Regions from separate parts of the Homo sapiens genome. Here all the other regions are linked to region 1. Evidence: promoter capture Hi-C in 16 types of primary human blood cells and fetal thymus (Javierre and others, 2016). All regions are on one chromosome and are shown on one strand. The core of a region is centred on a gene start or on the middle of the fragment in contact, and the rest is flanking DNA. Distances in the headings are between cores, read along the strand shown.

Evidence for each region. The method cuts DNA at HindIII sites, captures the fragments that hold promoters and counts their contacts. A CHiCAGO score of 5 or more calls a contact.
Region 2: a contact is called between a fragment that was not itself captured here and the fragment with the promoter of CLXN in region 1, in 1 of 17 cell types (endothelial precursors). The highest score is 5.2, in endothelial precursors.
Region 3: a fragment that was not itself captured here is called in contact with the fragment with the promoter of CLXN in region 1 in 4 of 17 cell types (endothelial precursors, M1 macrophages, M2 macrophages and 1 more); the score reaches 6.6 in endothelial precursors.
Region 4: a fragment that was not itself captured here is called in contact with the fragment with the promoter of CLXN in region 1 in 1 of 17 cell types (endothelial precursors); the score reaches 5.2 in endothelial precursors.
Region 5: a contact is called between a fragment that was not itself captured here and the fragment with the promoter of CLXN in region 1, in 1 of 17 cell types (endothelial precursors). The highest score is 5.1, in endothelial precursors.

What each region holds. Positions count from the first base shown.
Region 1 is chr8:48,731,910-48,737,715 of GRCh38, forward strand. It overlaps CLXN (calaxin), which reads right to left and starts at 3,359. Exons shown (of 6, transcript NM_024593.4): 1 at 3,185-3,359. The coding sequence starts at 3,242. RefSeq lists an enhancer at 2,764-3,438. The HindIII fragment of the contact is 1,056 bases long and covers 2,758-3,813 here.
Region 2 is chr8:48,304,163-48,309,968 of GRCh38, forward strand. LOC105375820 (a long non-coding RNA gene) reads right to left here. Exons shown (of 3, transcript XR_928852.3): 2 at 5,474-5,755; 3 at 5,127-5,217. It also overlaps the pseudogene RNU6-295P. Among named protein-coding and RNA genes, the nearest start is that of LINC02947, 210 kb to the right of the region's middle. The HindIII fragment of the contact is 397 bases long and covers 2,389-2,785 here.
Region 3 is chr8:48,323,446-48,329,251 of GRCh38, forward strand. No RefSeq gene overlaps it. Among named protein-coding and RNA genes, the nearest start is that of LINC02947, 190 kb to the right of the region's middle. RefSeq lists an enhancer at 46-554. The HindIII fragment of the contact is 4,016 bases long and covers 1,354-5,369 here.
Region 4 is chr8:48,345,830-48,351,635 of GRCh38, forward strand. LOC105375821 (a long non-coding RNA gene) reads left to right here and starts at 961. Exons shown (of 4, transcript XR_001745891.1): 1 at 961-997. The HindIII fragment of the contact is 2,255 bases long and covers 1,271-3,525 here.
Region 5 is chr8:48,405,962-48,411,767 of GRCh38, forward strand. All of the region lies in intron 2 of LOC105375821 (a long non-coding RNA gene), which reads left to right. Among named protein-coding and RNA genes, the nearest start is that of LINC02947, 110 kb to the right of the region's middle. The HindIII fragment of the contact is 419 bases long and covers 2,724-3,142 here.

The DNA of each region.
Region 1 (5,806 bases), core at 2,109-4,608:
CATGAGAATTAGGTAACAATTTTCATTTCAGTTTAGCCTTCATTAATTCATAAGCCAGATTTTGGAAACTAGAGTCACCAGTTTTCCAATAAAAAAGCTTTAAAGCATATTTTAGCACCCAATATGGCTCTTCTTGAGGATTACGTAAAAATTAACATGCAACTATTCAGTAATAGTTTGGAGGAAGGAAATTTTTATTTAAAGGATATACACACAAACAGATACTTGCTCATACACATTATTGTATAAAGGACCATGGTTATAAATACCGAGTTAATTATTTGTGTTCCAATCCCCATTTGAGAATGTAGGTGGAAGGGTTATTGCCTGGTCTTGATAATATAAAAGCTCAAATACCAAGTATGGGCGGAAGTTGGGGAAAATTTATTTTGAAACCAGTCAAAACTGTGATTGAGCATTTTAACAAACAAGGACAAAACCTGTGTGTGTATAACAGAAGACAGCATCTAGGAATGGAAAAATCACACCTCATCCTAGAGGTCAGTACAGGCATTTGTGGGATTTCTGGTTTGGAAAACCACATTTAAAGAGAAACACTAAAAAGTCTGGGAAAAAAGATTCAGCAAATAAATAGTAGGAAACAATATAATGGTTATGATTTCAAAAACAGCTGTTAGTCACTGTGGAAAACAGTATGATAGCTCCTCATAAAAATTAAACACAATTATTGCGTGATCCAGGAATTCTACTTCTATTTACATACTCAGAAGAACTGAAAGCAGGAACCTGTACAACAATGTTCATAGTGTCATCATTCACAACAGTCAAAAGACAGATGCAAGAGTCCATCAATGGAGGAATGGATAGACAAAATGTGGTGTATTCATACAATGAAATATCATTCAGCCTTAAAAAGGAAGAAAATTCTGACACATAGATGAACATTTATGGATATTGCACTTAGTCAAATAAGCCAGACACAAAAGGACACATATTGTATGATTCCTCTTATATAAGGTACTTAGTCAGATTTATAGAGACAAAGTAGAATGATAGTTGCCAGGGACTAGGATGAGGAGGGAATGGTGAGTTAACATTTAATGGGTAGAGTTTCCACTGGGAACAATGAACAAGTTACGGAGGTGGATGGTGGTGTTGCAAGCAGAACAGTGTGAATGTACTTAATGCCATGAAATTAAGCACTTAAAATGGTTAAAATAGTAAATTTCATGTTATATGTAACCACATACACACACACACACAAACCTCCTAAAAAGCAAGAGCTGTTAGTTGTTGCGGAAGAAAAGCCTGCATGAAGAATGATGTACTCTGTTCATGTACATAAAATGGTAGCAGAGGGGATGTTGGTTAGCCATTTTTCCATCTCAGCTGAAATAAAAATTTTTAAAAACTAGTTTAATTTATTACCCAAAGGATCAAAGGTTAGCCATAAGAAAACTTTTATTGCTAAACATTTCTTAAATTCTAGAATACAATACTAAATGAAACAAGAAAATTCAAGAATAGGTTTTCATCTTCTTGGAATGCTGTGAATGTGTCCTGCAGAACATATCTGTAGAACAGTGCATGAACTAGATGTTCTCTTAAGATCTTTCACTCTTCTTTGATTCTACAAAATTTATCCATTGAATCTTGATAGCTTTATTGTCTTGCAACTAAAACAAAATTTAACTTTAGGGGAAAGTTCTTCCGTTAAAGAAAATTTAAAATTATTATAATGTCCATGACGTATAACTATTTCTATAGACTTTAACTAATAATCATCTAAGTTTGTAAGACTCATTGAAAATTTTTTAGTAAACAAAAAAATCAAGAGCAGACTTTTTCCTGCCATATTTTTACTTACCTTTAAAAATATACACTCACCTTTTGATTGTTCACAGAATGATTGTCTGCAATGCATTCAAACTTACCGAACAGAGACTAAATCAAATTCAAACTTACGGAAAGGGACAAAATCAGTATTGTGTATAGCAGCTATTGCATTGTTTTTGAATATTTATCAAAAATGTTTACTAGATGTTTACTAGAAGAATACCTATTCTCCCAGAAATGAAAGTGTTTTAAGAAAAACAATAACAGAACAAAACCCTCATCAGAGTATAGTAGTCATAATAATATCTTAAATTACAGGATTTTTTTCCTAAACATTTTAAGATGCGTACACACACCATAATATTCATTTATATCACCATCCACTAAGAGAGCATTTCTTACCAGGTATTAAATCAGATACTAATGATAATTAGAATGCACTAGATCTTACAATCTCTAAAACTACATCAACATGTTTATTCCTTCTTTTTTGAGCGACTCGGTTATTTGGGGGATTGTTGCTTCTGTTTCTTCAAGTGGCCAGTAGTTTTGCAATTAGCACACACAACTTCTAAGTTTGCTCGACAGGAAATTATCTTCCTCATCTAAACCATACCCACGGCTTCCTTGCTAAAGTGCAATTATGTTTTTCAGTCTGAATATAAACTCAAAGTTTCCTATGAAATTCTAGGACCACCCTTTCAAATGCGAGATTAGAGCAGGTGCCTTCAAATAGGGCTCATCTTGTCACCTGCAAAGTCTCCTTTATCTTTCAACACCAGGGGCCACTGGAAAGTGGGAGTCTAAAGTTGGGAACCCATTCTTTACCACGTGTTTAGTTGTGCTGAACTCTGGTTTCCAAACAAATATTGTTCTGAGGCACAGATGAGATGACACAACTCATCTCTCCGAAAGATGTTGAGAAGTTGAGCACCGTTTTCTCCTATGGGTCTCTTGGTAAGCTTCCAGAACTTGGACCTGCGGGTGTATGTGCGAGCTATAAAGCAGGGTGAGTGCACGGTCTACCTTGGTGGTGCTACTTTTCTTGAGACCAGTTGGTTTTAGCATTTATTTTACACCTCATTGAGGCTAACATCACATGTTTCTATCAGGTAAAAGAAGAGGGTTGGAGAAGCAAGTAAATGCATGTGTGGGAGTGTAGGTAGCACCAGAGGCGGAGGCCTGGGTTCCTAAGATCAAACGCAAGGAGCTGGCACCCCGGGATTCCCTCTCTGACTTCTGCTTAAGGGGCCGGGGTGGAGGGGCGGTAGGTAGCCCACAGAGTCCCAGCAGGCGGGAAGCAGGCACAACAGCGGACCTTAGCACGGGGTGGGACCCAGGCTCGGTCCAGGAGCCTCGGCCTGTCCAGCACTACATTCTTACTTACAATGCTTGCAATTTTTGGTTAAGGTGTCCGTCAGCTTCTGCAGTTTCTTGCGGTTCATGTCTGGCGCTCAGAGAATCGGGCCGCGGCGGGGGTCTCTGGGCGCGCGGCTACCGAGACCCTCGCGGGACCCCCGCGAGCCCTGGTGCTGGGTCAACGCGGTGAGGTCTCAGTTACTGATCTCGTGCGCGGCCCTAACAGACGGTGTAGCCAAGGCAACGGCTCAGCCCGCCGCGGATTGGCTCCCAGGCTGCCCGCGACGTAGCCAAAGCTACAGCTGGGCCCCGCCCATCGGCTCAGCGACTGCTCGCGCTGGGTTCTCGGTGCGCGGTGCCGCCGGCAGGGTCCCAGCTGGCCGCCTTGAGGGCTGTATTCTGACTGTTGACGTTGGAGTTTAAATGTTCAGTTGTTGCTGGCTTTTGAGTTCGCAGCCTCTTTGCTTGATTGCAGTGTAAATCATTAAAATCTGAAATGTGGTGTGCACGCTGTATGAGAGGTGTTTCGGGTCGTGAGCGTCACGCCTCAAGGGAAGGCCCAAGATCTTGGACATCTTGGGGGCTGGAGCAGCGTCACAAAATAGCAAGGTGCTGTCCAGAGGACGATCTTGCCGGGCCTCCCGTCAGAGGGCTAGAAGCTTGCTCTTTGGGCGGAGCCACTGCTTAGGTTTTCAGTCTTGGTGAGGTAACAGGAGGCAGTCTGTCACCTGAGGTCTTCGAGCTTTTAGTTGTGTTTCTGAGAGCAAGGGGAAATTGGAATACAGCCACGGGTTGCCTAAGGAGCGGGACGCGTTCCGAGGTCACTAGGAGATTTCATCACTGTGTGCACATCACGGTGCACCGACACAAACCTAGATGGCCTTGCCTACTGCACGCCAGGCTGTATGGTACAACCCATTGCTTCTGGGCTGCACCCCTGCACAGCAGGTCACAGCGCGGAATGCTGCAGGCAGCTAAAACAGAGTGCTAAGCACTCTGGGGAAGGTGCAGTGTTCCAGTACAGTGTTACATCTTATGGGACCACTGTCCTAATGTTGTCTGATGTTGACTTAAATGGCGCTATGTGGCTTGTGACTGTAGTTTTTTTCTTTTCCCACTGCCCTCATCTCACTTCCAAAAGATGGAGGTTGTCTGTGGAATCTGAGGAAAGCCACGAGGAATTTTTATACTGCTTAAATAGGCATTCCCCCCAATGAAAACGGGCTGACAACACCACTTGGGTGTGGGGTACAGCCCAATCTTGCTTTTCCGGAAAATATCTCAGCAACCTTGGTCCTTTACTTATTTGAAAGACAAGTTCTGTGCCGGCAGACAAAGGATATTCCTTACATCTTCAGGGTGGGAGGACTTTCTGCTTTTCCTGATCACAGAGGGGATATCCTCTTTCAGCTAAGGCAGCAATAAAAAGGGGTGGCTCAGCCAGGATCACCAAATCTACAGTATTCTCCAGAGTGCCTGCTCGTTTAACTTCAGAGGGGAAAATGACAAACTATGTTATTGTACACATACTGGCATTTTTAGACTGAAGGCAGAAAAATTCTACTAACCATGAGTAATAATCCCAAATGAAATAATTCCAATGTCGAGGCCTCTGGTTTTTCTTTACTGTTTCATTTGTTTGTGGAATGAAGGATTGGGATGCTGTTTGAAACTAGAGCAAAGGGTGCTTGGTAAAGGCATGGACTGTGTTATCCTAAAGCAAATGTCCTAACAACAGTTACCCGATATGAATTGATGGTGATTATGAGTTTGTAACAGTAGTATTTTTAAATAGTGTTTCTACATATCCCCTTGTCTAGAAGAGTGAAATTCCTGAGACCATAGAGAACAAAAGGGAAAGACTGGACATATTTGAATTATACTTACCTGTGACACCTTATTGATTTCTGTTGGATCACAGAGCTGTAGCAAATACTTAATTCCTAGAGATTGCTGCACTGCTCACTTCAAGAGACAAGGAACCGAAAGAGTGGTTGTCAGTAATTACTAAGAGACGCTGTGGGCTCCCCACCTGATGTACTAGGCCTGTGTTGGGGAGCAGGCCTGCGCTGTTGGTGAGCACATTGGTGGTTATTTCTGGTGGCCTGGGGAGATCGCATACACCGGGTGCTTGCTATAGGTAAGCTAATTAGTTATTCCTTCACGAGTTTAAGGCCTAGAGCCCATCAGCCATGTTCCCTTAAAGTTAAAAAAATAATAAAAAGATGTAGGGGCAATATCACAGATTGTTGAAATTAAAATATGCCGGGCCAAAACTCCTTAACCTGTTGAGCAAACTTTGTAAGTCACCTCCTCCTCTTCCACTTCTTTTATCCTCCAGTTCTTTCTTCCATGCAGTTCTTTTAGCCAAAAAAATCAACCAATCTATCTATCTATCTATCTATCTATCTATCTATCTATCTATCATCTATCTATCTATCTTTCTATCTATCTATGCAAATGCATTGTTTTGTGAATCTCACTTATCTAAGAGAGTGATTTGCAGAGTTGACCTTACAATAAGGTCTTATCATCTTTTTCAGGGAAAGCACAATGTTTATTTGGAGTATGTTTTGTCAACATACGGGTAAACTTCAGAGCTTTCATTACATTCTTGTGAAGTTTTGGAACTTAATATTTTTAGACTTTA
Region 2 (5,806 bases), core at 1,337-3,836, 430 kb before region 1:
AATTATTAGTAGTGCCTCTTCCTCTCTCTTCCTGAGGAATGTCTGCAAGGACAAACTGTTCTCTATTTACTAAAAGCTAAGTGAGCATTCCTGTATAACTCTTTAAAATGTTGGGATCAGAAGTGTTAGTGCTGCTCTATTTTTGTCTTACCAATACTCATTTAGTTCAGTGTCCAAACACTCTCACTTAGAAAAGTACTAGAAACAGATGAGATGCCAGCCTAGGAGGCAGCCTCCGCTCCACACAGAACCCCCACTGACCATCACTGCTCTCTCAATCAGGGCAGTATAACAGGGAAGAGACAGCAGCACCGTGGGACCCTGAGCCTTGGTTGAACTCGCCAATGCAAAGCAAAACGAGGAAAACAAAGGCTCTCCATGGAAAAGGAGCTGATTTATCATGAATTTTATTTTAGTCATATGACAGAGTACCTCACTAAAGACAGATAAATGGGTGGAAAGCTATTCCCTGGAGGTGTTAGACAAGAAAAGCTCTGTAACAATGTGAGGTTGGGAAATGTTGAGTTAAACAAATTAAATAAATTTCTTTCTTGCAGGATTTCTCAGAATATTCTTATCCTAATGTGCGCTGTGAGTCTCCAAGAGGGGAATATGTTATGCAGGACTTCCCAAATTCATGTAGCCACAGGACTCCTGTTTTTCCTTCTCCCACAGGCAGCGGCTTGGTGCCATGTGTAAGCATGTGGGCTCTGGGATCAGCCTGTCGGCTTGAATCTAGGATCTCCTGCCTCTGAGCTGTGCGGCATTGGACAAGTCACTTAACCTCTCTCAGCTTTGGTTTCCTCATCTCTAAAACGAGTATAACAGTAGCACCTGCCTTATAAGGTTTTCATAAGGGTGTGGAAAATAAATTAGTTAATTCATATGAAGCACTGCATTTATCCCATGACCTCAGAGACCGTTAAAGCTTAGCAAGTTATCCATAGAAAGCACCTTGCAAACTGAGTGCTGCATCGTGAACACTTTTCAAAATTATCAGTGTAGTGGACATTAGGGTGGCCGCTTAGCATCTATGACACACACCCTGGCCAAAATGATTGGTTTAGGTTGGCCTAATTAGAAGGCTGGTCAAGAATGTTCTTTGATGGTTGAGAGGAGGACATCCCTTTGCATCTGAGTGATGGTGGGTGGGCATTGGACCTGGAATTGCTGTGGGCAATTCACTCTAATGAGACTAGTCAGCCTGGGAGGGAGCACACACCCTGAGGACGGCAGACCACAGATGTGCCCTCAGCAAACCTCCCTGGAAGTGTGCCCCTCCCCTGGACTTGCTCAGTCAGGAGAGCCTGTAAATTCCTTGCAGCTGAAGTAAGTATGAGTAAGGTTTTCTGTGACCAGCTGTCTGCAGCTTCTCAGCTGATAGAGTGGGGGAGCTGGTGGCAAAGTGGGGGAGCAGCTACGGGGTGCAAATACAGCCCAGCTCTTCGGAATGGACTGCACCAGCTCCCAGCTCTCATGTGACTGCTCTGCTTCTTAGTTTCCTCAAAGGGAGATATCAAAATCTTCTACCTAAACATTATGGTAAAGGTGAGGTGCAAAGGAGAGAAGGTGTGGGAAAACACTTTGGAGACAGTCAAGTGTTCTATAAAGGCAAAGCAGAAATGTTTATAGCAATTGTGGAAACTCAACCACTTCTTGATTTAAAGCTGTTACACTGTGGTGGTACAAGATTTTTGGCTAATGCCAAAATAAGAACATAAAAGCCAGCTGTCAAAATATTATAATTGGTTTCTGTCAAACCCGAAGGCTTTAAATTCTGTGATGCTATAAGTTTAAGGGCTTATCTATGGATTTCTGCCATTCTATAATACTCTATCCCATTTAAAATTCTATCGCTGTGAATACTTCAAAAGGGACTCTGGAAAGTATTCACGTATAACTGACGAGTCTCACATTATGGTAATTAAACTTTTTTTTAAATTTTAAACTCCGTGAAATTTTAGTTGTCACTTATCCTTATTTACAATTCAACTAAATGGACCAACTACTATTTGATAAAAGGTAGTGAAATTTTCACTTCTAGTTTTAGAAAGTTTTAACCAACAGTATAGTATGGTGGAAAGTTAGTAAAAGAAATCGTCTACAAAAAGTAAGAAGAAATAAATTCTGCAATTACTTTAATGAAGTTGAAACTTTAAATTATTACCAATAGTAACCATTATTGAGAAGGACAGTTTTCCATGGGTTTCTTGCACGTCTACAAGTCTTGCTGGGTATTTCAAGAATGCAAAGCCCTGGCTGACCTTTAGCCTGGCCATTTCTCAGGTTGTGTTTGCAGTGAGTAACCTTGAGGAACTGAGTAAGGTCTCCCTCCAAGACAAAGAGTGGACGGACTTACTGTTTGATGTGACAGTGGTGTGTTCCCCAAGCTTAGTGCTCGTCAGATGTGGCACAAACCCACTGCACGTAAAACATCCATCTGGGCCCCTCCATGCCAGCCCCATACACATTCAAGAAAAGGAGAACTGTCATATGCATGCCATGTCCTGAGTAATAAAGTCCCATGTCTCCGATCCAGGGGTCTCATGTCTGCTGCCAGCATCCATGAAACTGAAATAGGCTAACCTATTAGCTTACAAGGAGGGTAAAGGCAGATCCTAGACTTTACATTGGTATTGAGATTTTTGGTGATTTTGTATAATATTTGATTTATTTTCGTAAACATTTCCGTGTTAAGAATTCACACCTATGGTATTCTTTGTGGGCACCTGGCATCTTCATTAACCAGCAGACGGAGCCTGTGCTGATTAATTAGATGCAGGCAAGCTTTCTTTGTTTTACACATGCCAGACACCTCACAGAAAAATCCACTTACAGTTATCACAATGCTGTTAGTACACAGAAAAAATGTAGGACATGATAGTAGCATCCTTTACTTGGGCTTCAGAGCATAGAAGGTAAAAATATTACGTTTTCCGAGGGGACCTCCCAGGTAGGAGGAAGTTCGGGAATGTGCATTACCACTCTAAAAGCACTTGAAAGGAATATTTTCTAAATAAAGAATTACTCTGAAGTTGCTAGCACTGGATCTTGTGAAAGGAGAGCTCCTGAATATAACATATTTGTCTTTGGAACTCTAGAACTTTCTCTTTCGTTTACATCATGTATGTTATTAGGGAATAAGGTCCTCAGCTGGTTGTGGTGGTGTGTGCCTGTAGTCTGTTACTCAGGAGGCCTAGGTGGGAGGATTGCTTGAGCCCAGGAGTTCGAGTCCAGCCTGGGCAACATGGTGAGGCCCTGTCATTGCAAAAAAATAAAAATAAAAATGGAAAGGAAGTCTTACCTTGGAAATGATCTGATGTTTACTATGCTTAAAAACTGTGTGTCCGTCAAGTGCCTGAGGAAGTGCACACGCAGGTCATGTGACTTTACTTTAACATCCTCATGTTTGTACTTTCACCCACCACAATTTTAGGTGCACACAGACAAGTCCAGAGCTGACCACCTGCCTGCAGCTGGGCCAATTTCCCTGAACAAGTCTTAGCATCAGTACTTGATGAGCTCCAAGCCTCCTGTTTGTTTATAAAATAAAGCTCCTCTTGCTCATTTTGCCTTTGGGTGGAAGCACAAAACATTCTTTAAAATAAAGGAAAGAAATTTAAGAATAATTCAAAATTGCATTTTAAGGATTGTCACATGGTAGAAAACCAAATAGAAAACTATTAGTGATAAGATGGCAATAATGAAAAATATTTAATAATGTCTGTTGTAATTTGAATGTTGTTTTATTATTATTATTTTATTTTAATATGGAGCTCTTCATGAATTTGCGTGTCATCCTTGCACAGAAGCCATGCTGATCTCTCCAGCATTCCAGTTTTAGTGTATGTGCTGCTGAAGCAAGCATGTAACTTGAAGTTTATTTTCAAACTTTGGAGTTGCATGTATTGACAGTCATGTTGTTCCACCTTCAAATGGGTTTTTACTTCTTTTTTTTTTTTTTTTGGAGACAGAGTCTCACTCTGTCACCTAGGCTGGAGTGCAGTGGTGTGATCTTGGCTCACTGCAACCTCCACCTCCCAGGTTCAAGCGATTCTTGTGCCTCAGCCTCCCGAGTAGCCAGGATTACAGGTGTGCATCACCATGCCTGGCTAACTTTTTGTATTTTTAGTAGAGATGGGGTTTCATCATGTTGACCAGGCTGATCTCAAACTCCTGACCTCAAGTGATCTGCCTGCCTTGGCCTCCGAAAGTGCTGGGATTATAAGTGTGAGCCACTGCTCCTGGCCCTGATTTTTTTTTACTTCTATTTCACAGTGACATGACTTGGTGGATTTGAAAAAGTGATCCCTGTACTGGAGTGTTTTTCATTTCATCACTAGCTTTAATTTTTAATTTTTAAAAAAGTTTCTTGGAATAGGTATCTTGCTTAGAAACATATCAGAGAACTTAAATGGTAGAAGAATAAGAGTGGTGAGGAAAAGAAAAAGGCTGTTTTTCAAATACAGTCGGGCTTTAAGGCAGTCTGTGCTCTTGGAAGAAGTTTTGTAAGAGGAAGTGATGTAAGTCAAATCTAATTTTCCCGTCCAAACAATGCTATGACTATAGGGTTATTTTACTAAACAAAGACTTAATGCCTAGTTTTTTTTTTTTTTTGAGACAGTGTCTCGCTTTGTCACCCAGGCTGGAGTGCAGTGGCGTGATCTCGGCTCACTGCAAGCTCTGCCTCCCGGGTTCACGCCATTCTCCTGACTCAGCCTCCCGAGTAGTTGGGACGACAGGCGCCTGCCACCATGCTAGGCTAATTTTTTGTGTTTTAGTAGAGATGGGGTTTCACCGTGTTAGCCAGGATGGTGTCAATCTCCTGACCTCGTGATCTGCCTGCCTCGGCCTCCCAAAGTGCTGGGATTACAGGCGTAAGCCACTGTGCCTGGCCATGCCTAGTTTTTAAAGGAATACTTTAAATACCCCTTTGATTCAACTGCAAGTGTATGGTGTGGCACTTCTGAGGCACATGCAAATTGGTGAAGGAGGGCAGCTGGTTGCACATTATTTATTACTTGATTTATGCAAGAGAGCCCCTGAAATGGGGGCAGATAAGATTGGAAGATCCTTGAGAAGGTCTGGTCTCAATCTAGGAACTTTAGAAAACCTCGGGTGCGGTTGACGAATGGTCTAGCCAAGGAGTGCGCCATGTGGCCCGAAGGAAGAGTACTGAGGCTCCATGATGCCTGGGCTGCTCAATGGTGGGCAGAGCTGAGAATGAACCATTGGAGAGGAGTGACATCAGCAGGATGGAGGACCAGTGCTCCCCATGTGTATCCCCCCACAGCAGCCGCCCACAGTCAAAAGTGCCTCTGTGGGAACTTTGGGATCTAGATGGGAATTGCAAAACCCCAGTGGAGTCCAAGACTGAGCAAAGCCATTTTAGGAAGACAGAACCAGGTGGCAGCTTGCTGATGGTGGTCCCAGCCACACACTTGGGAACAGTCCTGTCTCCCTGTAAACTTACCTTGATCCTGCAACTGGCACCATCTGCCAAGCCAGGGATGTGGGAAGAGCCATGCCCACCTGTACTTCCAGTAGCAGGCCCACCCAGCTCAGTCCAGGCTGTGGATGGTGAAGCAGCCAGTGACGCAGTTCCATCTCCTCTCAGCTGGGGTCTGGGAGCAGCACTGTCTACCAAGGGACGTGGTGGGAGACACATTCACTTGAACAATGGAAATACAACGCACCAAAACTCGCGGGATACAGCAGAAGCAGTTCTAAGAGGGAAGTTTATAGTGATAAATGCCTGCACGAATAAAAGAGAAAGATCTCAATTAAACAACTTAACTTTACACCT
Region 3 (5,806 bases), core at 2,112-4,611, 410 kb before region 1:
TGGCTGCAGAGGAGACTCGATGCTGGGCTACAGGAACCCCCGGGGGTTGCGATGGCCCAGCCTGCGGTTGGGCATGCGGGGACTGGGCCTCAGATGGTGCTGACAGCACCCGCGTTTGCACACTGTGATTCCCAGCTCATCCGAGTGGAGATTTGGGCTACAGGGAAACTTGCTGCTGGGCCTTGGCCTGGGCTCCACCATGGCTGGTGGCTCCCCTGATGGTTGGTGGAAGGGCTGAGAAAACCAATTCCACCAAAGGTAAGAGGGATGCATGTGGACTGTGCTGAGTTCCTCTTAGAGCAGCCCTTCTGTTCTACGTGTACCACAGGTGCTGTTTAATTTTACGTGTCCACTTGACTGGGCCATGGACTGCCCAGAGATTTATCAAACATTATTTTTGGTGTTTCTGTGAAGATGTTTCTGGGTGAGATTAACATCTAAGTCAGTAGATGGAGTAAAGCCAAGCGCCTCTCCCAGTGTTCAGGGCCTCATATAACCAGTTGAAGGCCTGAATAGAACAAAAGGCTGACCTCCCCAACGCGTGAGAGAATCCTCCTGCCTGGAGGCCTTCATCCTGGGATATCACCTCTTCCTGGTTCCACAGCAGATTCTAGCTTTCAGGCTCAAATGGAATGTTGGCATTGCAGAGGGCCAGGCCCACATCACATGAAGCAGTTCCTTATACTAAATCCCTCCCCACCTCCCATTCTGTGTGTGTGTGTGTGTGTGTGTGTGTGTGTGTGTGTGTGTATGTGTGTGTGTATCATATCGGTTCTTTTTCTCTGGAAAGCCCTAACACAAAGTATTTGATGATCTTCCATGCTGGGGTTGTCACGGTTATGAGGGGGAGGCCAATCGGTTGTGTCTGTGAAGCAGTGTGTCTGGAAGGCTTACTCCCTGAGCCTTCAGGCTTCCACCCAGGAAATGAGCTTCCAGAAGTAAGTGCCTGAGTCATACCTAGGAGTTTGGATTGCACCACAGAGATGCTGGGAGCGTACATCAAAAGCCTTCTCCTCCTCCACAGAGATTAGGAGAGAAAGAGCACAGGCCGATGCCCATGGCTTCTCCTTTCCTTATTACTGACATTGACTGTTCAGAGCAAATAGGTCTGGAGTAAGTAAAGTAATCCATGGATACATTCTCAAAAGTTTTGAAAGAAAGATGCTGGAGAAATATTTAGAATTATTACCATTATTATTTCTGGATTTAATTCTACCTATATTTAAAGAAAATGAAGAATAAGGTTCTATGACCTATGTGTTTTTGGCAAAAATGTTTAAAATTTCCCCCTGGCATGAATTGAAAAAAATCTTTCATAATTCTCAGGTCAGACATATAAATATTCTAAACAAAAGCTTGTTAGTTCTACCCATTCCACCATCTATTGAGTTAAGACTGGCTAATCCAGAGGTTGACACAGTTAAATGAAAGGGTTCATTTGGAACTGTTAACACCTTGCAATAACACCTTGCACTTATATAGAGCTTTTCATGCTGAAGGATTGCAAAGTGCTCTGCAGACAGTGTATAAATAGAAATGCCTCCCCCACCTCTAAAGGCAGCCTTCTTGCAGGCACAATGCGACCAAAACATCACCCCACAGTCTTTTTGTTGAAGGGAAACATTGCAGACCATTTTCTCCATTTCAAACTGAGTGAGTTTTTTCCTTGCATGGTTTGATTTTCTGATTCTCTGATACCAGCTGGGTGTCCAGTGATTCAATTCAATTCTGACATCAATTCTCCAGAGTAACCCAGACCCCACAAATTAAGGGCTCTGTCCTGCAAGAATACCTGTCATTTCAGATGCCAGTTGCAAGTAGTGGGTGCCCAGGTTACCCACACTATTGTCCCATTGGGCTACAAACTGGGGATGCCCACGAATCCCCCTGAGGTTCGGTAGTTTACTATAATGGTTTACAGAACTTGGGAAACATTTTACTTAAACGATTTCCAGTTTATTGGGAAGGATACAATTTAGAAACAGCCAAATGGCAGTGATGCACAGGGCAAGGTGTGGGGAAAGGAGTGCCCTCTCTGGGTGTATCACCCACCCAGCCCCTCAATGCGTTCAACAACTGGGAAGCACTCTAAGCCTTTCATTTAAGGGTTTTTAATGGGGGTTCCATGTTGTAGGCATGCTTGGTTAAATCACTGGCCATTGGTGATTGAACTCAATTTCCAGACCCTGACCCAGGGTGTGGAGTTGAGAGTTCCAACTCTCTAATCACATGGTTGGTTCCTGGGCAGCCAGCCCTATCCTGAAACTGTCTAGGGTCCACCAAGACTCACCTCAATGGCATAAACTCAGGTGTGGTGGAAAGGGGCTTGCTGTGAATAACGAAACACATTCCTCTCACCCCGTCACTCAGTATTGTGAGTGATAGGAACTTTGTCTCCAGGAACTGGGGACAAAACCCAAACATGTATTTTCTGTTATGTCATGCAAATGACAGGGTATCTCATATGACCAGTATGGGTCATGTTGGCATGAAGCAGGGTACTGCTATGAGTTGTCACCTCTCATGGAAGGGGTTCTGGGGAATCTGAAATGGCTTTCAGATACCCTCCATATAAGCACTGTTCAATAGAATTTCTATGTTGATGAAAATGTTCTATAACATGCACTATCCAATATGGTAGCACTAGTCACATACGGCTGTGAGCACCTGACATGTAGCTGGTTATGACTGCAATACTATTTTATTGTGATTACTTTAATTTCAATCAGCTTACATTTACTGGGTCCCCTGTGTTTCATGGCTGCGTTGTGTGAAGCTCTACAGCACAGACCCTCTAGAAATGACCGATGACCGTATGTGTGGGGTGGTGGCGGCTCAGGAGCAGTCCTAATGACCGCATTACTTATCCCCCAGCTCTGGAGCTGTAACTCAAAGTGAAATGGATGCTGGCCTCTGCAGAAAGTGTAGTATGGGACTCATTGATCCATCGAGCCATCCATCTATTAATCAATTTATCCTTTGAACAAATATTTCTTGAGTGCATTCAACACTTGGTCACATTCAACACTTTCCCAGGTAAATGGAGATTTTTACATTTAGAGTTGCCCAACAACTCTTTATTTAGATGAAGAATCAAATTTTGAATAAAAGTGAAGTTAATCGTTAAAATTATGTTTAAAAGCACTCCTCCCAAAAGTGAGTGCTAGTTGAGAGGGTGATTCTGAGCAGGAGGAGAGGTAGGAATGACATGATAACACCAGGTGTTAAGTGAACAAGACGGTGGTGTCCTGGACATGGAAATGTGTTTATAGGTCATGCAAATGACTCCTGAAGAAAAGCAGTTGGTGATTCTGGCAACAATGAAGGCATTGGTGATGGGGGGAAGCTGCGTGGTGTGGATGGCAGTATTTTACGGAGTTAAGTTTATTTTTGCCCAAGTGAAATTGTGGCTTGTAAAGAGGAATGAGAAGGCAGGAGCCTTGAAACAAAGTACAGGAGGTAGACTGAGATGCAGCTTCAGAGAAATGGCAAGAGCAATGAGCAGGGAAGACGGAGAGATGCACTGGGCCCAGGACCCGGGGGAGGGCTCAGCATGAAGTGGGGTGGGGTGGTTGTGCAGCCCAGGCAACCTCTGTGTCCCCAGGTCACAGAAGCTGGTCACTCTCTCTACCAATTCAGAGGAAGGAGCAGACTCAGAGGTCAGGGAGAAGGCTGCACCCAGGCCTGAGAGGCCTGCAAGGGCTGGGAAGGAAGACTTGTAGGAAGAGCTGGACCAGGGCAGGCCCTGGAAAGAGGGCGGCCTCTTCCTTCCACCATATACAAAAATCAACTCAAGATGGATTACAGCCTTAAATGTAAGACCTAAAACTATAGAAACCGTGAAATAAAACCTAGGAAATACCATTCTGGACATAAGCATTGGCAATGATTTCATGATGAAGTCCCCTAAAGCAACTGCAACACAAACAAAAATAGACAAGTGGGACCTAATTAATCTAAACAGCTTCTGCACAGCAAAAGAAACTATCAACAGAGTAAACAGATAACCTATGAAATGGGAGAAAATGTTTGCAAACTGTGTATCTGACAAAGGTCTAATATCCACTATCTATAAGGAAATTAAACAAATTTACAAAAGAAAAACAACCCCACTAAAAAATGGGCAAAGAACATTAACAGACACTTCTCAAAGGAAGATATACATGTTCATGGCCAACAGGAATATGAAACATGCTCAGCATCGCTAATCATTAGAGAAATGCAAATTAAAACCACAATGAGGTACCATCTCACACCAATCAGAATGGCTATTATTAAAAAGTCAAAAAATATTATAACAGATCCTGGTGAGCTTGTGTAGAAAAAGGAATGCTTATATACTGCTGGTGGGAATGTAAATTAGTTCTGCCACTGTGGAAAGCAGTCTGGAGATTTCTGAAAGAACTTAAAACAGGACTACCATTTGACCCAGTAATCCCATTACTGCGTATATACTCAAAGGAATAGATGTTGTTCTACCATGCACACGTATGTTCACTGCAGCACTATTCACAATAGCAAAGACATGGAATCAACCTAAATGCCCCTCAATGATAGACTGGATAAAGAAAATGTGGTACATATACACTATGGAATATCATGCAGCCATAAAAAAACCTCAAAATCATGTCCTTTGCAGCAACATGGATGCAGCTAGAGGCAATTATCCAAAGCAAATTAGTGGAGGAACAGAAAACCAAATATCACATGTTCTTACTTATAAGTAGGAGCTAAGTGATGAGAACACATGGATGTAAAGATGGGAACAACACACACTGGGGCCATTGGAGGCTGGAGGGTGGGAGGAAGGAGAGGATCGAAAAACTACCATCAGATATTATGCTCACTACCTGGGTGATGGAATCATTTCTACACCAAACCCCAGTGACACCTAATCTATCCATGCAACAAAGCTGCACACGCACTCCCTGAACCTAAAATAAAAGTTGAGAAAAGAGAAAAGAAAAACCTTGTTTCTTTTCTCTTACAAAATCTTTTCTAAGGACGTAGGGAATGAACGCAATTAATGGTAATTTAGTAAAATGTTTCATTCAGTGTTTAGAAGTTGATTTCTTTAGCAGTGTTTCACGTTGGCTTTGGAGGTGGCAGACTCTGCTTGTCCCTCATACACACGAAGTTCTGACCAGCACACAGGCATTTTCACATCCTGCTCAGAACCAAGTTTATATCCCATTTTAACTGGGTGAAAACTGACTCTCCAAGGAAAGTTTATCTGGGGGGCACCTTGGCTCTTTTTCAGCAAGTGGGGGTGTGGTGGGGGTGGCTGCTGAGGCTCAGGAGGTTGCGATCCAGGTGGGCTATCTGGGATTAGAGTGAGCCATCCTACGGGCTCCCAATGAGCCCAGTCAAGCTTGCTTTGTCAACACCGTCTTCTGAACAGCTGTAGATCATGCCGCCATCTGTGCGTGGCCTCTCCTACAGGAGCATCGTCTCAACCAGGGCCAAAGCCAGCGCCTGAGTCTGATGTCTACCAACGACGACCAGAAGCCCAGCTGCAAAGAAGGGGGCCTCTCTCTATCCCGGCCGGGTGCAGATTACCAGTTCCTGGGCCCCACCCAGCCGGGAAAGCCTGAGGTCCTTGCTCAGTGACTGGACTCACGGGCTTCTCCGGTGGTGGAGGGCCTGGCCCGGGCGTAAATGTCTGAGGGGCTTACTGGACGGCCTGGGAGTGCAGCCACTCAGCCCCCTCGGGACACCGAGGCTGGGGATTCGCAGCCCTGCAGGGACGGGCTCCTTCCCTGAGCTCTTCCTTGCACTGGCTCAACATGACTTGACGGGCCTTTAA
Region 4 (5,806 bases), core at 1,148-3,647, 390 kb before region 1:
ATCTCAATAAACTAGATATTGAAGGAATATACTTCAAAATAATAAGAGCCACCTATGACAAACTGACAGCCAACATCGTATTGAATGTGCAAAAGCTGGAAGCATTCCCCTTGGAAACTGGCACAAGACAAGGATGCCCTCTGATATGGTTTGGCTGTGTCCCCACCCGAATTTCATCTTGAATTGTGGCTCCCATAATTCTCAAGTGTTGTGGGAGGGACCTGGAGGGAGGTAACTGAATCATGGGGCTAGGTCTTTCTCAAGATGGTGAATAAGTCTCATGAGATCTGATCCTTTTATAAATGGTTTTATTAGTTCATTAGCAGCATGAGAATGGACTAATACAGTAAATTGGTACTGGGTAATGGGATGCTGATGTAAAGATACCCAAAAATGTGGAAGTGTCTTTGGAACTTGGTAAGAGGCAGAGGTTGGAACAATTTGTAGGGTTTAGAAGTGGACAGGAAGATATGGAAAAATTTGGAACTTCCTACAGACCTGTTGAATGGCTTTGACCAAAATGCTGATGGTGATAGGGGCAATGAAGTCCAGGTTGAGGTGGTCTCAGATGGAGATCTGACAGCTTGCACTCTGTGCCTGGAGAAGCCTCAGACACTCAGTGCCAGCACATGAAAGCAGCCAGGAGTGGGCTATACATTGCAAAGCCACAAGGGTGGAGCTGCCCAAGGCTGTGGGAAACTACCTCTTGAATCAGCATGACCTGGATGTAAGACATAGAGTCAAAGGAGATCATTTTAGAACTTTAAGGTTTAATGACTGCCCTATTGGATTTTGCACTTGGATGGGGCCTGTAGTGCTTTTGTTTTGGTCAGTTTCTCCCATTGGGAATGGGTGTATTTACTCAATGCCTGTACCCTCATTGTATCGAGGAAGTAACTAACTTGCTTTTAATTTTACAGGCTCATAGGCAGAAGGGACTTGCCTTGTCTCAGATGAGACTTTGAACTGTGGACCTCTGAGTTAATGCTGAAATGAGGTAAGACTTTGGGGGACTGTTGGGAAGGCATGATTGGTTTTGAAATATGAGAACATGAGATTTTGGAGGGGCCAGAGGTGGAATGATATGGTTTAGTTGTGTCCCCACCCAAATCTCATCTTGAATTGTAGCTCCCATAATTCCCACATGTTGTGGGAAGAACTCAGTGGGATGTAATTGAATCATGGGAGCGGGTCTTTCCCATGTGTTCTCATGATAGTGAATAAGGCTCATGAGATCTGATGGTTTTTTAAAGGGGAGTTCTCCTACACAAGCTTTTTTGCCTGCTGCCATGTGAGATGTGTCTCTGTTACTTCTTTGCCTTCCACCATGATTGTGAGGCCTCCCCAGTCATGTGGAACTATGAGTCCATTGAACCTCTTTTTCTTTGTAAATTACCCAGTCTTGGGTATGTCTTTATTACAACATGAGAATGAACTAACATAGTAATCAATAAACTATGTTTTGAAAGAACATACGTCAAAGTAATAAGAGTCACCTATGACAAACTGACAGCCAACATCATACTGAATGCACAAAAGCTGGAAGCATTCCCCTTGAAAACTGGCACAAGACAAGGATGTCCTCTCTTAACCCTCCTATTCAACATAGTATTGGGAGTTCTGGCCAGGGCAATCATGCAAGGGAAAGAAATAAAGGACATTCACTAGGGGAACTGTCAGGCCTGAACTTTGCAGGGCAATCTTGCTCATCCAATGGTGCTCGTCTCATCTGAGCACCCGTTGGTCTGCTGGCCTCTCTTAGGGCCTCAGCCTGGCCACACCTGCTTGCAGAGCAGTCTCAGGTGCCCTGGGGGCCTGCACCATAGCTTCTGTGCTGGTGGACTGTGCCTGACCAGTGGAGAGGTCTAATGGGGCAGCCACTATGGCCATACAGCAGCTTGCATGCTCCCTCCCCATACTGCAGCTTCCCCCAAGTCCATGGCAACTCCCCATGTTGCTTGCTGTTGCCCATCTGCATGGATGGGTTTTGCTTTCCTTGCTCCACCAGTGCAAGGGAGTGCAGTCTGGCCCTCCTCCCTCAACTGACTGCCATTGCAGATGAAGCCTTGGTGGGCAGAGAGTCAACCAGTCCCACCCCCACCCCCACCAACACCCTGCCCTTGCACTAACACTGTGTAGAGAACAGTGGATTCTCCCCTGCCCTTAGCAATCACTCCTGCTTGTGGGGCACAGATAAGGCACCTAGATCTGTGTCCACCAGCACCTTACCCCTGAGCCAACACCACCTTTAGCATGACTGTGCACATAGTCCCCAGCAAGGGCCCCCCTGACACCACCCCACCAGCTGTGTTGCCTCTGTCACCGTAGTAAATGCCTGCAGGGAGACAGGCACCCTGGCACCTGCAAACACTCTGTCATAGCTGCCACACCTCAGGCCCCCCACCCCCTGGCACAAGTGGATTCTTAACCTTGAGGAGCCAGAGAACAAAGCTGGGGCCCAATACCAGTTCAGAGCACAGAGTCCATGAGATGGGAGATGAGCACTGTCTACCTAAAATCTTCCAGAAATAGAGCCAGCCATCTGAATTCACCTTATACCACAATCAAACCCTCAATGTCATCAGGTAGTATAAAAGAAGAAAAAAAAAACACTCTGCCAAAGGTCAGAAGCCTCAAAGATTGAAGGGAGATAAGCCTACAAAGATGAGAAAGAATCAGTGCAAGAACCCTGAAAACTCTAAAAGCTGGAATGCCCTCTTTCCTTCAAATGACCACATCACCTCTGCAGCAAGTATTTTGAACTGGGCTGAGATGGCTGAAATGACAGAAATCGAATTCAGAATATGGATAGGAAGGAAGATCATTGAGCTAGAGGAGTACATTGAAACCCAATTCAAAAAACCTAGAAATCATGATAAAACAAAACAGGAGCTGACAGACAAAATAGCCAGTATAGAAAAAAGAATTTAACCAACCTGATAGAGCTGAAAAACACATTACAAGAATTTCATAATGCAATCACAAGTATTAATAACAGAATAGTCCAAGAAAAGGGAAGAATCTCAGAACTTGATGATTGGCTTTCTGAAATAAGACAGTCAGACAAGAATAGAGAAAAAAGAATGGAAAGGAATTAATAAAACCTCCAATAAATGTGAGATTATTTAAAGAGAGTAAATCTATGACTCACTGGTGTCCCTGAAAGTGATGGGGAGAATGAAACCAACTTGGAAAACATACTTGGGGATATCATTCATAAGAACTTCCCCAACCTAGCTAGAGAGGCCAACATTCAAATTCAACAAATGCAGAGAACCCCACTAAGATACTTCACAAGAAGATCATCCCCAAGACACATAATCAGATTCTCCAACGTCAAAATAAAAGAAAAAAATGTTAATGGCAGCTAGTGAGAAAGGTCAGGTAACCTACAAAGGGAAGCCCTTCAGACTAACACTGGACCTCTCAGCAGAAACCCTGCAAACCAGAATATATCTGGGGCCAATATTCAAACTTCTTAAAGAAAAGAAATTCCAACCTGGAATTTCATATCCAGCCAAACCAAGCTTCATAAGTGAAGGAGAAATAAGATCCTTTTCAGACAAGGAAATGCTGAGGGAATTTGTTACCAGCAGACCTGCATTACAAGAGCTCTAGAAGGAAGCACTAAATATGGAAAGAAAAGACCATTACCAGCTGCTACAAAAACACACCAAAGTACACAGACCAGTGGCACTATTAAGCAACCACATAAACAAGTCTGCAAAATAACCAGTTAAAATCATGATGACAGGAACAAATCCACACACATCAATACTAACTTTGAATGTAAATGGGCTAAATGCCCCAATTAAAGGGCACAGAGTGGCAAGCTGGATAAAGACCCAATGGTATGCTGTCTTCAAGAGATCCATCTCACATGCAATGACACACATAGGCTCAAAATAAAGGGATGAAGAAAAATCTACCAAGCTAATAGAAAATAGAAAAAAGCAGAGGTTGCGATCTTAGTTTCAGACAAAATAGACTTTAAACCACGAAGATCAAAAAAGACAAAGAAAGGCATTACATAATGATAAAAAGTTCAGTTCAACTAGAAGATCGAATTATCCTAAATATATATGCATTAAACACAAACCACCCAGGTTCATAAAGCAAGTTCTTAGAGACCTTCAAAGAGTCTTACACTCCCACACAATAATAGTGGGAGATTTTAACACTGCACTAACAATATTAGACAGATCATTGATACAAAAAGTTAACAAAGATATTCAGGACCTGAGCTCAGCACTAGATTAAAAAGACCTGACGACATCTACAGAACCCTCTACTCCAAAACAACAGAATATACATTCTTCTCATTGCCACATGGCACATACTCTAAAACTGATCAGATATTTGGAAGCAAAACACTCCTCAGCAAATGCAAGATACCTGAAGTCATAGCGAACAATGTCTCAGACCACAGCATAATCAAATTAGAAATTAAGACTAAGAAATTCACTCAAAGCCATACAATTACATGGAAATTGAATAAGCTGCTCCTGAATGGCTTTTGAGTAAATAATGAAATTAAGACAGATGTCAAGAAGTTCTTTGAAAGTAATGAGAACAAAGATACAACATAACAGAATTTCTGGGACACAGCTAAGGTAGTGTTAAGAGGGGAGCTTATACCACTAAATGCCCACATCAAAAAGTTAGAAAGATCTCAAATTAACAACCTAATGTCACAACTAAAAGAACTAGAGAATCAAGAGCAAACAAATACCAAAGTTAGCAGAAGACAACAAATAACCAAAACCAGTTTGAACTGAAGGAGATTAAGACACAAAAAACCATGGAAAAGATCAACGCATCCAGGAACTGTTTTTTGAAAAAAATCAATAAAATAGGATAAAGAAGAAAAGAGAGAAGATTCAAAGAGACACAATTAGAAATGATAAAGGGGATATTACCACTGGCCCCACAGAAATACAAATAACAGTTGAAGAATATAATGAACACCTCTATGAATATAAACTAGAAAACACAGAAGAAACAGATAAATTTTTGGTCACACATACCCTCACAAGACTGAAAGAAGAAGAAACTGAATCCCTGAATAGACCGATAATGAGCTCTGAAATTGAGTCAGCAATAAATAGCCTACCAATGAAAAAAAGCCCAGGACCGGATAGATTCACAGTTGAATTCTACCAAATGTACAAACAAAAGCTGGTACCATTCCTGCTGAAACTATTCTAAAAAATTGAGGAGGAGGGACTCCTCCCTAAATCATTCTATGAGGGTAGCATCATCCTGATACAAAAACTTGGCAGAAACACAACAAAAAACAAAACTTCAGGTGAATGTCTTTGATGAACACTGATGCAAAAATCATCAGCAAAATACTGACAAACTGACTTCAGAAGCACATAAAAAAGCTTATCTACCATGATCAAGTAAGCTTAATCCCCAGGATGCAAGGTTGCTTCAACATACACAAATCAATAAATGTGATTCATCACATAAGTGGAACTAAAGACAAAGACCACATAATCTCTCAATAGATGCAGAAAAGGCTTTCAATAAAATTCAACATCCCTTCATGTTAAAATCTCTCAATAAAGTAGGTATTGAAGGAACTTTCTTCAAAATAACTGGAGCCATCTATGACGCACCCCCAGACAACATTATACTGGATGGGCAAAAGCTGGAAGCATTCCCCTTGAAAATCATGGGGACAGATGGATGCCCTCTGTCACCATTCCTAATTGTCACCACAATGGCATTCCCATTAGAAATCATGGGGCATTCCTCTTGAAAATCAGTGCAAGAGAAGGATGCCTTCTATCACCACTCC
Region 5 (5,806 bases), core at 1,683-4,182, 330 kb before region 1:
AGCATCATTTATTAAATAGGGAATCCTTTCACCATTGCTTGTTTTTGTTAGATCAGATGGTTGTAGATGTGTGGTGTTATTTCTGAAGACCTATCTTATTGTATATTGATATTAAGGCAAAAATACAGCATGTGCTACAGCCGTAGTTAAAAAAGAGGAAAACCAGTCACTCCTCTGGGTTTTCCCAAATTGTTATGCTCACAGGCTTCCGTGAGATGTGTCCTTCTTCCCCAGTGTCTCCGCTATGACTCCCAGCCCTGCCTTTGTGGGTGCCCAGCTGCTCCCAGGAAAAGCTGGGCAAGTCCTTCTGTCTGCATTCACACCTGGGACCCCTTCCTATGCCCTGCTGTGGCTGTGAGTCTTATTTCCTAGTGAGTCGCTATTGCAAGGAAATGTTCAGAGGATTTTTAGGTGCTGCTATTTGTGTTTTGACCTGGTTTGTGGAATGATATTGCTTAAATCATTTCTAGATTAGCTTCAAACACTGTTAGAATCACAGTCCATGAGGAGTTGTGTCTGATCTGGTTGCAGTATATAAAGAATTAGTAAAAAGTCTGTTCCCAGATACTATGTTGAGTTCCACAGAGAAGGGCTTCCTCACATAGATCTGCATGAGGTGTTATGTTCCTATCAAGATATTTAAGATGCTTTGACTTCTAAAAGAATAACTGGCTTTTTTTTAAAATCTCTCTGGGGGAATTTTCTCATCTTTTCTACTCCCTGCTTAAGTTAAAAACCACTATGAAGAGCTCTGAAGTTTATAAAGGTTTTGACTCTTAAAATCTGCTGGTCTTGATGTGAAAAGTGCTAAATGATATGGAATGAAACTGCTGGCTGTGCCTGGTGTTGCAGCCAGGCATTTTATTGTTCATTCAAGGAGACAGCTGTGCGGTCTGAGGTCAGCGAGGGAAGATGGCCTGGGTCTGTGAGGGTGCTGTGGGCTGCTGGCTTCTGAACATGCTTGGCCATGATCTGGAGTCCAGCATTCCCAGAGGGAACGGAGCCTACAGGGTCACGTTTAAACACCACAATGGAATTGAAACTTTTCCTTTAGGCTATTTAATTTGTATGTAATAAAAGCTATATTGCTTCTTGTTAAACCTGCATGAAAACAAGTTAAATTTCCCAGAAAACCTCATAAGGGATGGAGGTAGTGAAGGGACCTTGGAGATGGATGAGCAGATGTGAGCATGTGGCATACTCATGTTCCTGCTGGGACCCTGAGGGCTCCTCTCAGGGGCTCCCTACTCCCAGTGTGGACACTGGGTCTTCTTCCTGCCACCTGTGAAGCCCACACGGTCACATGTAAATCACCGGACAATTTCCCTTGGGTGCCTTGAGATTTCCCTACTGTGGATAAAGTGTTCTGTTTCTTGGGTGGAAGGAGCCCCACTCACTCTCTGGGGCAGCCAGGCTGCCGGGTACAGCTGCCCCCAGTGCTTTCTGCCCACTGCAGATGTTAGGTGAATCAAGATAATTAAAACCTGAATTACAGGATGCTTGTTCTCAGCTCAGACCAGGAGCTTTATTCAGATTTCATTTGCTGAGACACCTCTTGTGCCCCAGACATTGCCCTAGTGCAGCTGCATTCCATCCTCAGCAAGCTCAGCAAGGTAGATGTGGTTATGTCCACTACACAGGCAAGGCAAAGGAGGCAGAGAGGCTAGGCAGGCTGACCATGTGTCTCGCTTAAGAAGTGGTGAAGACAGGACCTAAATGCCAGTCTCCTTGGCTAAACGTTATACTTTTCCTCCCAAAGTGCACTGCCTCTCACAGATGGTGGAGGAGGGTGCAGAAGGGGCTCACGTGGCCAAATGGCCATGGCCATAGGAGGTCTGTGTGTTCCCAAACCTCTACCAACCCTGTCCCCCATCATTTAAAGTGATGATCATGATACCAACATTCTTAGTGGGCAGTAGTGCAAAGTCAGAGAAATAAGAAATAAGATGACTAATGTGAGAAAAGCCGGGGTGGTGTCTGGACAGGGGATGAGTCATTTATGCTCCACATCAGGTGGCTTGGAAACCATCACCCGCACACACTGCTGCTACTTTATGTTGGTGTGTGCAGCTGGCGTCTAAAGACTTCCTGCAGGTAGTCTTCCTGCAGCGGCTGCCCACCTGGCCCTGCTGTGCACCCTGTGCCTATGTGAAGCTTGGAGTCTAGCCTCACGCAGCCCGAGACTCCCAGGCTGCTTCATCCCCCATCTGCTGGAGAACCTGTTGCAGCTACAGAAATCTGAATCACTTGAGAAGCTTGTGTGATGGGCCTTGTTGCCTCACAGCTGCCTTTTTCCCGTGCTTCTCTCACCTGGGATGGATCAGCCCTTGAGTCTTCTCATGGCAAAGGTGAATGAAGCCTGGTTTTTCGCAGTTATCATCCTCTGACTTTATCATCCCCAAGGAAATGATCTAGGAAAGAGTGAGTACTTAATGATAAGAAAACTCACCATGTTTTATGATAGAGAAAAGCCCAGACCGCTTTTCGAAGTTGAATTTGCTACAGAAAAAGCATGGAAGGAAGAAGAAATAAGGTACACACAAACCTTGCCTGCTCTGCCCCAGAACTACAGGCCCTGGTGGGGCCTGCTCCCTGTCGCCAGCAAAGTTGCTGAGAGAGCACACGCCAGCCACGGTGGTGAAGTCATAGAAATGCTATGCCCCCACAGGCCACAGGAATTGTGGAAAGATTTGTGTAAATATCTCATGCATTCTTGTGATCTAAGCTTTATGGAAATAAAAACCACAATCAAAAAGCCAATGCCACATTTATTCCACCTCCTTCCTTTTCTCCTGTAGAATAAATTCATAGAACAGTTTATGGAGCAGCCAAGAAAATACGTTATTTCAATTTTATTACCAGGAAGACATGCACCTAAGTGCTCAGCAAGACTAACCTAAACAGGGTCCATTTCGGAAGAAGATGAGCAGATGCTGCTGGGCATCCCCTTAGTCATGAAGACAAGAGTGGCTCTCGCAGAGGCCACCCCACAGCCCCTGTGTCCAGATGGGCTTGGTAGTTACCAGTACTCAGAGAACTTCCAGCTTCCTTTCCTCTTCTCTCCTTTCTTAACTTTGTGGTGGATATTGGAGTTGGGACGTCTCACACACTCAGAGCACAGCTGGGATGTTCAACTTGCTGAAGCTTCCCTGGCACCAAGTTTAAAGAAACCACCGAGGAGCACATGGTTTCCCACACAGGCTCCTGGTGGGGCATGCCCTCACCAGGATTCCAGCAGCAGACCCCCAGGAGTCCTGGCCTGAGAGTGAGGAGGGGCCCTCTCTGGAGAGGAGCTGTGGACCCATGCTCACATCCATCCTTCCCACTTACCATAACACAGCAGGGAAGTCAGTGTCATGAGAACACATTTCCACCCTAAGTTTTTAAATGCACCATGCTAAAATTTTCTTTGAATTCTTGCCCCAATTTTTCTGACTTGTAATGTGAAACAACAGACTACTTCCTGCTTCTCTCTGCCCTCCTTTTCCCCACTCACATTCCAGTTATGTGTGTCACCCATATATTGAATGGACTTAGGAAAGTGCAAAGCAGGAAACAATCCAATTTTAATTAATCAATTGATGTTTTCTTCATTGCTCTTGAGGAGATCTCAGGCAGAAATCATAGTTTTCCTATTTACTTCTAACTATTCAAAGTCAAGCCTGAATTAAATCCTAACTTTGATCTCTCATCTAATTGAAAGTGTCTCCCCTCCCTGACCCCATCTCAGTCCTTATCTAGCCTGGGGACCTGGCACTGGAAAGGAGAACATTTCTTCACCCTTTCCTTCTACTCTGGAGTTAGGGGCTGGGAAGGAGGAGAGTAGGTGGCAGGAAGGTCTCATTTGTCTAGTGCAGTTATTATTTGACATTGTTACCTCTCCAGGGGCTCAGAAGCTGCCTTTTCCTTACCCATTTCAGAAGGAGACACTTGCGTGGTCTACCTGACCACTTCAACCAACTCTCAGCTTTTGCTGTAATAGCAGCACTGTGGAATGTTGCTCATGGAGATATGGGCCATTACTTGCCCTGTCAGTAGAAGTGCAGGTCCTGCTCTAGACTGTTCTCCTTGCTCTGCTGTCAGGGCAGATTAGGTAACCTATCATGGTTAGACTTTTTTCAACAAGAAGTAGTCACAACTGTCCAATTCCCCAAGACCTCTCTGACAGGCCTTTCATGTTGCCACAGGGCCTGTGAAGTGCCCTTATTTGGCTTGAGGTACGTGTGTCTTGAGCACGAATATCATAGAACCCCTTCCTCCCCATTAAAACAAAAACTCTTCTGAAAAATCCCCTCTCAGCAAGGCAGGTTAGGAAAATGGCAGAGGAAGCATAGGCAGCTCCTGCCCCGCCACAGAAATGTCAAAAACAAGCGGAAACTGTGAGAACTCTGGAAAACAGTCAAAGGTTTACAGTAACCAAAAGAATGCTGAATCAAGGAAAAGACAACTTTAAAAAAATGGGAGGAAAACTTTGTGGCATTTTTGTTTGCTCTTATTCCACCCCCTTTCCAGCTTGGCAGCAGTTTTGAGGAAGTCAGCTTGCATTCCCAGGGTGGAATTCTGGTCTCTGACTCTAGGAATCCTATTTACAAATTTTTGTATTTGCCTGTTCTCACCTGTCTGAGGGCTACCTGAAGGACTGACACAAGATGCTTGTCTCTGTTTTGGCTCACTCAGAAATGATTTGGGGTAGAAAAGCAGTGGGCATTGCCCCAAAACACTGTGTGGCAAACAAATAATCCATAACCTCCTGGGCAAAAGATTACAATTAAGACATGTAATTGAATATTTAAGTTTCCCTGAGAGGGAAAGATAGAGTTTCTTCATGAAATTAAAAGCATTTAAAAGTACCCACGTATACTGCGGAATTTAGAAAGCAACATGTACACCCAGGGCAGGACACATGCACTGAAAAGACTTGAGATTTAAAGGTTTGACTTCTGGCTGATCTGTAGGTTCAGTTCCAGCACAAAATGAAGGCTGAGGCAGAGTTGTAAACAGATCAGTTAAATGTTGAAAGAGTGACCCAGCACAGTCAATTTGCAAAGATGAGGAGAGATCTTTTGTTTGTTTTAAATTTTTCAGTTATGGGCATTCAAGGAAATCTCTATCAAAATACTGGCTGAAAATAAGCTAAAGAAACAGAGCCTTCATTGACCACACATGACAAGAAATACAGTCTTTGAAACAAAATAGTTTGACAAACTCAATGCACAAATAGATTACAGATTATTGCAGCCTTCAATCAATAAATAGCAAACCCTAAAGGAGAAGAATAATTTGATTTCTAGAGTTGCCATATTATTATATAAAATTTCCAGTTTTTAACCAAAAGGTTGCACATAAAAAGAAATAGTTAAATGTGGCCCATTCAAATGAATAAAATAAATGGACAGAAACCATCTCTGAGGAAGTCAAACCACTGGAGCTATTAGAAAGAGATTTAAGTCATCTGTCTTAAAAATGCTGAAAGAGCTAAAGGGAACCATAAACAAAGAACTAATGGAAACCAGAACAATGCTGTATGAACAAATTGAGAATATCAATAAAGGCATAGGAATTACAAAAGGGAACTAAATAGAAATTCTGAAGGTGAAAAGTATAATAATTGAAATGAAAAATTTATTGGGCCAGTCACGGTGGCTCATGCCTGTAATCCCAGCACTTTGGGATGCCAAGGTGGGCAGATCACCTGAGGTCAGGAGTTCGAGACCAGCCTGGCCAATATGGTGAAACCCTCTCTCTACTAAAAATACAACATTATCCAGGCACGGTGGTGTGCACCTGTAGTCCCAGCTACTCGGGA